Linked DNA regions of Homo sapiens: region 1 is linked to region 2. The links are contacts of gene promoters, found by promoter capture Hi-C in blood cells and fetal thymus (Javierre and others, 2016). All regions are on one chromosome and are shown on one strand. The core of a region is centred on a gene start or on the middle of the fragment in contact, and the rest is flanking DNA. Distances in the headings are between cores, read along the strand shown.

Region 1 (4,361 bases), core at 1,807-4,306, 560 kb after region 2:
CTGAGGCAGGAGAATTGCTTGAACTCTGGAGGCAGAGGTTGCAGTGAGCCGAGATCGCACCACTGCACTCCATCCTGAGCAATAGAGCAAGACTCTGTCTCAAAAAAAAAAGGCCATCATTTATTAAGACTGAGTATGTTCCAGGCATGACGTCAAGTACTTCAAAACTGGCTATGTTGTTGGCCAGGTGAGGTAGCTCACGCCTGTAATCCGAGCACTTTGGGAGGCCGACGCAGGCGGATCACGAGGTCAGGAGTTTGAGACCAGCCTGGTGAAACCCTGTCTCTACTAAAAATACAAAAAATTAGCCAGGCATGCTGGCGCGTGCCTGTAGTCCCAGCTACTCAGGAGGCTGAGGCAGGAGAATCCCTTGAACCCAGGAGGCAGAGGCTGTGGTGAGCCAAGATAGTGCCACTGCACTCCAGCCTGGGGAACAGTGCCAGACTCCATCTCAAAAAAAAAAAAAAAAAACAAAAAAAAAAAACAAAAAAAACTGGCTATGTTGTCTTCACTTGATTTTTGTTTTGTTTTTGTTTTTTGGGTTTTTTTTTTTTTAGAACAGGGTCTTGAACTTGTGGGCTCCAACGATTCTCCCACCTCTGCCTCCCTAACTGCTGGGATTACAGGTGTGAGCCACTGCACCTGGCTATCTCCACTTCGGACAGGAGAAAACTGAGGCCCAGGGAGGGAAAGTCACTTCTCCAAGGCCACAAAGCTGGTAGGTGGCACAGTCAGAACTCAACTCCAGAACTCTAAACTGTAATGCTGGGTTCACTCAGACTACATTGCCCCCATTACGGAGGATGTTCTCCTCCTGCCCAGCTCTGGGGGGCTCTGGGTGGGTCTGGCCAACCCAGAGAAATGGCTGGTTGGGCACCCGTGGCAGCCCCCAGCCCTCCTTCCCCCACTAGCAGCCGCCGACGACGCCGCTGGGAAGGGTCCGGAATCAGGATCAGGAACCACCGGGTAGCTGCAAAGGTCAAAGGTCAGACATGGGTTTCCTGCCCACCCCTGGGAACTTCCTTCTTCTCAACTCTACACTCGCCTCACTGAGCACCACCCTGGAGTACCCCTCCGCTCTGTCAACGACCCCTCCCCACTCTGTTACCCTGGCTAATGGGGGGACGGGTCCCCACGCCCCAGCCTTCACATTGCCCTACAGAGGACAGCAATTGCATGATTGTCACCTGTCCGGAGTCCAGCCTCCTTTCCGGCTCCCTGCTCCTGTTCCTCCAGCCCACCCTGACTCCACAGGGTGGGGGGTACCTGTCCCAGTCTGTCTCCCAAGACTGGGAGTTGCTTGTGGCTGAGGTTGGGACTGACACCTCTTGGGGGGCCCTGGCATCACCCAGCATGGAGCAAACAAAGAAGGGACTCCAGGGAGGGTTTCCCTGGAGCTCCTGATCCTGGGAGATAGGCAGGACACACAGAATCCTTTGCTTCCGGGTCCCCAAATCCCCTCCAGGCCCAACTGGGGGGTGACCCACAGCGACCCCAGAAAACTCCCGTGGTTTTTTTGGTTTGTTTGTTTTTGTTTTTGAGACAGAGTTTCTCTCTTATCTCCCAGGATGGAGTGCAGTGGCCCGATCTCGCTTCACTGCAACCTCCGCCTCCCGGGTTCAAGTGGTTCTCCTGCCTCAGCTTCCCAAGCAGCTGGGATTACAGGTGCTCGCCACCACACACGGCTAATTTTTGTATTTTTAGTGGAGATGGGGTTTCACCATATTGGCCAGGCTGGTCTCGCACTCCTGACCTCAGGTGATCCGCCTGCCTCAGCCTCACAAAGTGCTGAGATTACAGGTGTGAGCCACTATGCCCGGCCGCCCATGGGGTTTTGAGTGTCGGGGGAGGAATCTCAGTCCCACGTATCCACCACTTGTCATTCACCATCTCACGGAGCCCCCAGCAGTGCCTCCAGCAGGAAATGATCCTAATCATAACAACAGCCACAGAGTGACGAGGCACTGGGTATACCCCGTCTCACAAAGGGGAAAAGGGAGGCACAGACATGCGAGGCCTCTTGCCCGAGCTCTCCCGGGACAAAGCCAGCTCTTCCCCGCTCCAAGTTCATTATTCCTTGTGCTGCAGTTTCCTGGAGCATTTACTGAGCATCTAAGTGAACAGGGCACTGGGGGCAATGACAGAGCTTGGGGAGCCAGCGCCACCGCCATCCATGGCTCAGCCCTCCGTGACGCCCTCCTATGCAATTACTAATCACCTACTGCTTCTCCATCCCTAGGCTAGCTAAGAGTTTCACACTTTTTCTGTTTTTTTTTTTTTTTGAAACAGAGTCTTGCTCTATACCCCAGGCTGGAGTGCAATGGCACGATCTCTGCTCACCGCAACCTCCGACTCCTGGGTTCAAGCGATTCTCCTGCCTCAGCCTCCTGGGTAGCTGGAATTACAGGCGAGCACCACCACACCTGGCTAAGTTTTGTATTTTTAGTAGAGACGGGGGGTTTCACCACGGTGACCGGGTTGGTCTCAAACTTCTGACCTCAGGTGATCCGTCCGCCTCAGCCTCCCAAAGTGCTGGGATTATAGGCGTGAGCCACCGTGCCTGGCACATTTCCCACGTTTTGTGGCACTTAATCAGCACCGCCCTGGTGAAGTGGGTGCACGTCTGTAGCCAGCCTGTCTTGAGGTAAGTCAAGTTCGCTGAACTAACAGCGTGAGACCCCGAGGCAACCCCTTCTCCTCCCTGTGCCTCAGTTTCCTCCGCCACACAAGGGAGACAGCAACAGACCTGGCATGATTCAGCGACCTAATCACAGCAGGTACTGAGAACAGCACCCGCCAGCAAGTAAAGGCGAACGCGAGGCTCGAAGAGGCCAGGAATGCCTGACCAGCCAGCCAGCGCCCCACCCAGCATTAATCAGAGGGGTCCAGCCGGTGCCCTGGCTCTGGGCCCCCAGCCCCACCCCCGCCTTCTCACAGCCAGAGTGGGAGTGTTGTGATAACCCGCAGCCCCCGTTTCCTCCGGGCCAGGAAGGAGCCAGGCAGAGGAAGTATTAAGAGGAGTAATATAAGCACTCCCCCCTGCGAGGCGGGGGCCAGAGCAGGCCTGGTGGTGAGCAGGGACGGTGCACCGGACGGCGGGATCGAGCAAATGGGTCTGGCCATGGAGCACGGAGGGTCCTACGCTCGGGCGGGGGGCAGCTCTCGGGGCTGCTGGTATTACCTGCGCTACTTCTTCCTCTTCGTCTCCCTCATCCAATTCCTCATCATCCTGGGGCTCGTGCTCTTCATGGTCTATGGCAACGTGCACGTGAGCACAGAGTCCAACCTGCAGGCCACCGAGCGCCGAGCCGAGGGCCTATACAGTCAGCTCCTAGGGCTCACGGCCTCCCAGTCCAACTTGACCAAGGAGCTCAACTTCACCACCCGCGCCAAGGATGCCATCATGCAGATGTGGCTGAATGCTCGCCGCGACCTGGACCGCATCAATGCCAGCTTCCGCCAGTGCCAGGGTGACCGGGTAAGGCTGTGGGCAGGACACTCGCCCTGGGGACCCTGAGCAAGCCCCCTCACCTCTCTGAGCCTGAGTTTCCTCATCCAAGAGAGGGGGACGATCACAGGACCAATGCTCTCTTTTCTTATGAGACAGAGTCTCGCTCCGTCTCCCAGGCTGGAGTGCAGTGGTGCAATCTCGGCTCACTGCAACCTCTGCCTCCTGGGTTGGAGTGATTCTCCTGCCTCAGCCTCCCGAGTAGCTGGGATTACAGGCATGTGCCATCATAACCGGCTCATTTTTGTATTTTTAGTAGAGATGGGGTTTCACCATGTTGGCCAGGCTGGTCTCAAACTCCTGACCTCAAGTGATACGCCTGCCTTGGCCTCCCAAATTGTTGGGATTACAAGCGTGAGCCACTGCACCCGGCCGATAGATTTTTTTTTTTTCCTTAAGAGACAGGGTCTCCATGTGTATCCTGGGCTGGATGGAGTGCAATTGCTATCACAGCTCACTGCAACCTCAATCTCCTGGACTCAAGTGATCCTCTTGCCTCAGCCTCCTGAGTAGCTGGGACTACAGGCGTGCACCACCACACCCAGCTAATATGTTTATATTTAGCAGAGATGAGGTCTCACTATGTTGCCCAGGCTAGTCTCGAACTCCTGGGCTCAAGCAATCCTCTCACCCCAGCCTCCCAAACTGCTGGGATTACAGGTGTGGGGCACTGCGTCCAGCTAAATTTTTTTTATTTCTTTTCTTTTTTTTGGAGGCAGGGTCTCACTCTGTCACCCAGGCTGGAGCACAGTGATGTGAGCATAGCTCACTGAAGCCTTGACATCCTGGGCTCCAGCAATCCTCCTGCCTCAGCCTTTTGAGTAGCTGGCACTATGGACATGCCACTATGCCC
Region 2 (4,445 bases), core at 1,290-3,789:
AGCTACTCGGGAGGCTGAGGCAGGAGAATCACTTGAACCCGGGAGGCGGAGGTTGCAATGAGCTGAGATCACACCACTGCACTCCAGCCTAGGCGACAGAGCGAGACTCCATCTCAAAAAAAAAAAAAGGTGTACAATTCAGTGTTTAAGTATATTCACAGCGTTGTGCAAATACCACCTCTGTCTAGTTCCAGAACACTTGCACCCCCCAAAAGAGGCCACATCACCATCAGCAGTCACTCCCTATTCCTCTTCCCCTAGCCCCTGGTAACCATCAATCTGCTTTCTGTCTCTGTGGCTTTCCCTGTTCTGGACATTTCAGTCCATATCAATGGAATCACAGGCCGGGTGCGATCACTCACGTTTGTAATCCCCGTGCTTTGGGAGGCTGAGGCAGGAGGATTGCTTGAGGCCAGGAGTTCAAGACCAGCCTGGGCAACATAGCAAGAGTCCGTCTCTACAAAATAAAAAATAATTAGGCACAGTGGCTTGTGCCTGTAGTTCCAGCTACTTAGGAGGCTGAGGTGGAAGGATCGCCTGAGCGTAGGAGGCTGAGGCCACAGTGAGCTATGATTGTGCCACTGCACTCCAGCCTGGGCAACAGAACAAGACCCTGTCTCTTAAAAGAAAAAAAAAAAAAGGAAACAAGGAAACAAGGCACCAATACATACATGATACAATGTGGTTGAACCTCAACAACACAATACTAAGTGAAAGAAGCCAGACACAAAAGGCCACACAGTGTGAGAGTACATTTATTTATTTATTTTGGAGACAGGGTCTCACTCTGTCGCCCAGGCTGGAGTGCAGTGGCGAAATCTCGGCTTACTGCAGCCTTGACCTCCTGGGCTCAAGTGATCCTCCCACCTGAGCCTCCTAAGTAGCTGGGACTATAGGTGCAGGCCACCATGCCTAGCTTTTTTTTTTTTTTTTTAAGGCAGGGTCTGACTATGTTGCCCAGGCTGGCCTTGAACTCCTGGGCTCAAGTGATCCTCCCGCCTCGGCCTTCCAAAGTGCTGGGATTACAGGCCTGAGCCACTGCGCCTGGCCCTTCGTTCCTTTTTATGGCTGAATATTCCTCCACTGCATGGATACGCCACATTTTGTTTATCCATTGTCCACAGCTAGACATTTGGGCTGTTTCCACGTTGGGGCTTTTTTTTGTTTTGAGACGGAGTTTTGCTCTTTCACCCAGGCTGGAATGCAGTGGCACAATCTCGGCTCACTGCAACCTCCACCCACCCGGTTCAAGCAATTCTCCTGTTTCAGCCTCCCAAGCAGCTAGGATTACAGGCACCTGCCACCACGCCCGGCTAATTTTTGTATTTTTATAGAGATGGGGTTTCACCATGTTGGCATGTGCCACCATGCCTATCTGATTTTTGTATTTTTAGTAGAGACGGGGTTTCACTATGTTGGCCAGGCTGGTCTCAAACTCTTGACCTCAAGTGATCCGCTTGCCTCGGCCTCTCAAAGTGCCTGGATTACAGGTGTGAGCCACAGTGCCTGGCAATTTCTGCTGTTTAAGCCACCCAGTCTGTGGTATTAGTTATGACAGCCCAAGCTGGAAATACAGACACTTTTCTCTGTGTAGTAAACACTCACTCACTTGCACACGTCATTCAATAAATATGTACTGGGCACCTAATACGTGTGCGATGCTGGGGAAAGAGGTGGCACAAATGAGCTTTCTGCCTGCATGGGACTCCCAGAGAAGAGCCAACACATGCAATCAGAGTCCTAATAAGGACACGCAGGGCGCCGGGGAAGCCCGGAGAGGGCTTCTGACCCAGCCTGGGTCAAAGGGCTTCCTAAAGGAGACATCTAAGGAAAAGTCTGAATGAGTGGGGGAGAGCGCAGCCTGCACGCGGGATGCAGGAGGTAGGCTGGAAAAGGGGGCGATTTGTATTCCAGGGAGATGGGAAGGTGTGGAGGGCGTTAGAGCCGGGAAGCCCAATCTATGGGTCACACAAGCCCTCTGGGGTTAGTGAGGAGGTGGACTCCCCAGATGGCAGGAGCTGGGAGCCCAGGCGGTACCCAGGGAGTGGCTCAGGCTGGGCGAGGGGCACACTTAGAAGCGAATCAAGACCCATGGGGATTAAGACCCCACGGATGTGAAGGTAAAATAACAGAATACAAAATTCAACAATGCCTCCTCTAAGCAGCCCTCCCGGCTATCCCTTTTGAAGTCCCCCACCACTAATCCCCCTACAAGAGGCCGGGGGAGTCCGCGCCCAACTCTGTCCCTCTCGAGACCAGAAGCTGCCTAGGGGCAGTCCGGGGCCAGGTGGCCTCGAACATGCTGTCGCGTCGGGCTTCAATCGTCTAGTCTGGAAATGGGCATCGCCCCCAACTAGGTGCGGTTCAGACTGGACGCCAGAAGTGCTCCTGCCTCCCAGCACCCCTCCTCCAGCCTTCCCAGGGGATGGTCCCAGGCCAAGCAGCCCCCGCCCCGCGCCTCTGCTCCCCGAACCCGGGTTCCGCCCGCGCCGCAGACGCTCCTACCTTCTTACCCCAGCGCCGGCCCGGTCGCGCCTCCGTGACGTCATCATGGGGCCTGCGCGCTGAGCTCCTGGCGGCGCGCACTCATTGCGCCTCAGTACCGCCGCCATTTTGGTAAAGAAAAAGATGGCTGGGCCTCGGACCCAAGCCAGGGTAGTCAGCCACTTCTTTGTCTCTTCAAAAAGAGGACACTTAATACGCCCTCATTCCCTACGCTCATTTAATATGTTGATGAACCAGGAGGGGCGGGCAGAGGCGAAAATCTAGAACATTGCCTTTACCAAGATGGCCGATGCCCGGATGAAAGATGGCAGCTGCGACTACACACGTGGTCCGGCGGCTTCAGCCTGGAGCGGCCCGGCCGCCAGAGCGCGCCCGCGGTCCATGAGGGGAGGTGGACCCAGTATAGCCCTGAGGAAGCCTCTCCGTAGCTCTTCGCAATCCCTTAACGCTTTAAAAGTGCTTTCCTAGTCCTGAGTCTCTGCGTCCCACTGGTGACGCTGGGGCGGGGCTAGGAGAGGGGAGATAAATGGGGCAGAGAAATTAACACACACCGCGCAGTCCAGGTAGGGAAACCGAGGCTCAGAGAGACCAGGAATTGAGTTTGGCCAAAATGTAACCGCGAGTAGGCTCATAACCGCGAGTAGGCTCAAATTCCGTCTCTTGCTCCTGCCAGTGCCTCTTCCTGGATTGCTGACCTGCTCCCCACTTCTGCAATATTATTTATTAATTTTATTTAGAAATTAGGTTTGAGGCGCCAATTTGTCTTAGGCACTATACTTTAGATTTTCTGCATTTACTACTTCTCGGTGTTCTCAACAGTAAAAATGGCAGTATTAGGGGTCTAAGGTTACACTGGTCCTGACTGTGGAGAGGGAAAAGCAAATGCTTTGGGGGCAGTTCAGGTAGGAGTAGTTGACCACAGAGTCCATTCCCTAAAAGGCATCCCCCCAGCGACCTTGCTGGGACCTAAATCCCAGTGCGCGATGCACCTCCCCTGCTCTAACGCCTCCCCTGGGTTCCCATTGTCCCGCAAGACTCCTCCCACCTCCCACCCCATCTCCCTTGGCTTCCCTCACCCTCCCATTAGCTCTCTGCTCAGGTCGCACCAGCCCCCTTCTTACAAATTGCCAGGCGCAGTCTTGCCTCAGGGAGTTCCCCCAGGAATTTCCCAGGTTTTTCCGTGGCCAGTTCCTTCCCTTCAGGCATGAGACAGAAAGGTCTCTGGGTGCAGGGGGCTTAAAGTCGGAAAATCACATGAAAGATTATTATCCTGGCTGGTCGCAGTGGCACATGCCTGTGATCCCAACCCTTTGGAAGGCTAAGGTGGGAGGATCGCTTGAGGCCAGGTGTTTGAAAGCAGCCTGGGCAACATTATGAGACCCCATCTCGACAGAAGATAAAAACATTAGCTGGGCGTGGTGGCATGCTCATCCTCCCATTCAAGAGAATCACTTGAGCCCAGAAGTTGGAGGGTGCAGTGAGGTATGATAGCGCCACTGCACTCCAGCCAGCCTGGGTGAAGGAACCTCTCTTAAAAAATACTAATAAAGGCCAGGCATGGTGGCTCACGCCTGTAATCCTAGCACTTTGGGAGGCCGAGCCAGGCAGATCACCTGAGGTCAGGAGTTTGAGACCAGTCTGACCAACATGGTGAAACCCTGTTTCTACTAAAAACACAAAAATTAGCTGGGCGTGGTGGCACATGCCTGTAATCCCAGCTACTTGGGAGGCTGAGGCAGGAGAATCACTTGACCCCAGGAGGCAGAGATTGCAATGAGCCGAGATCGTGCCATTGCACTCCAGCCTGGGCTACAGAGTGCAACTCCATCTCAAAATAAATAAATAAATAATAATAATAAAGGCCAGGCGTGGTGGCTTATAGCTGTAATCCCAGCACTTCAGGAGACTGAGGCGGGCAGATCACTTGGTGAGTAGTTCAA

The links. The method cuts DNA at HindIII sites, captures the fragments that hold promoters and counts their contacts. A CHiCAGO score of 5 or more calls a contact.
Region 1: the fragment with the promoter of PLVAP here is called in contact with the fragment with the promoter of CCDC124 in region 2 in 1 of 17 cell types (neutrophils); the score reaches 5.3 in neutrophils.

Annotation. Positions count from the first base shown.
Region 1 is chr19:17,376,037-17,380,397 of GRCh38, reverse strand. It overlaps PLVAP (plasmalemma vesicle associated protein), which reads left to right and starts at 3,056. Exons shown (of 6, transcript NM_031310.3): 1 at 3,056-3,478. The coding sequence starts at 3,110. LOC105372298 (a long non-coding RNA gene) reads left to right here and starts at 626. Exons shown (of 3, transcript XR_936362.3): 1 at 626-718; 2 at 912-985; 3 at 1,568-1,608. RefSeq lists an enhancer at 350-1,238. The HindIII fragment of the contact is 29,677 bases long and covers 1-4,361 here.
Region 2 is chr19:17,931,109-17,935,553 of GRCh38, reverse strand. CCDC124 (coiled-coil domain containing 124) reads right to left here and starts at 2,539. Exons shown (of 5, transcript NM_001136203.2): 1 at 2,506-2,539. RefSeq lists a silencer at 2,377-2,426 and enhancers at 2,507-2,696, 2,717-2,776, 2,923-3,461. The HindIII fragment of the contact is 21,651 bases long and covers 1-4,445 here.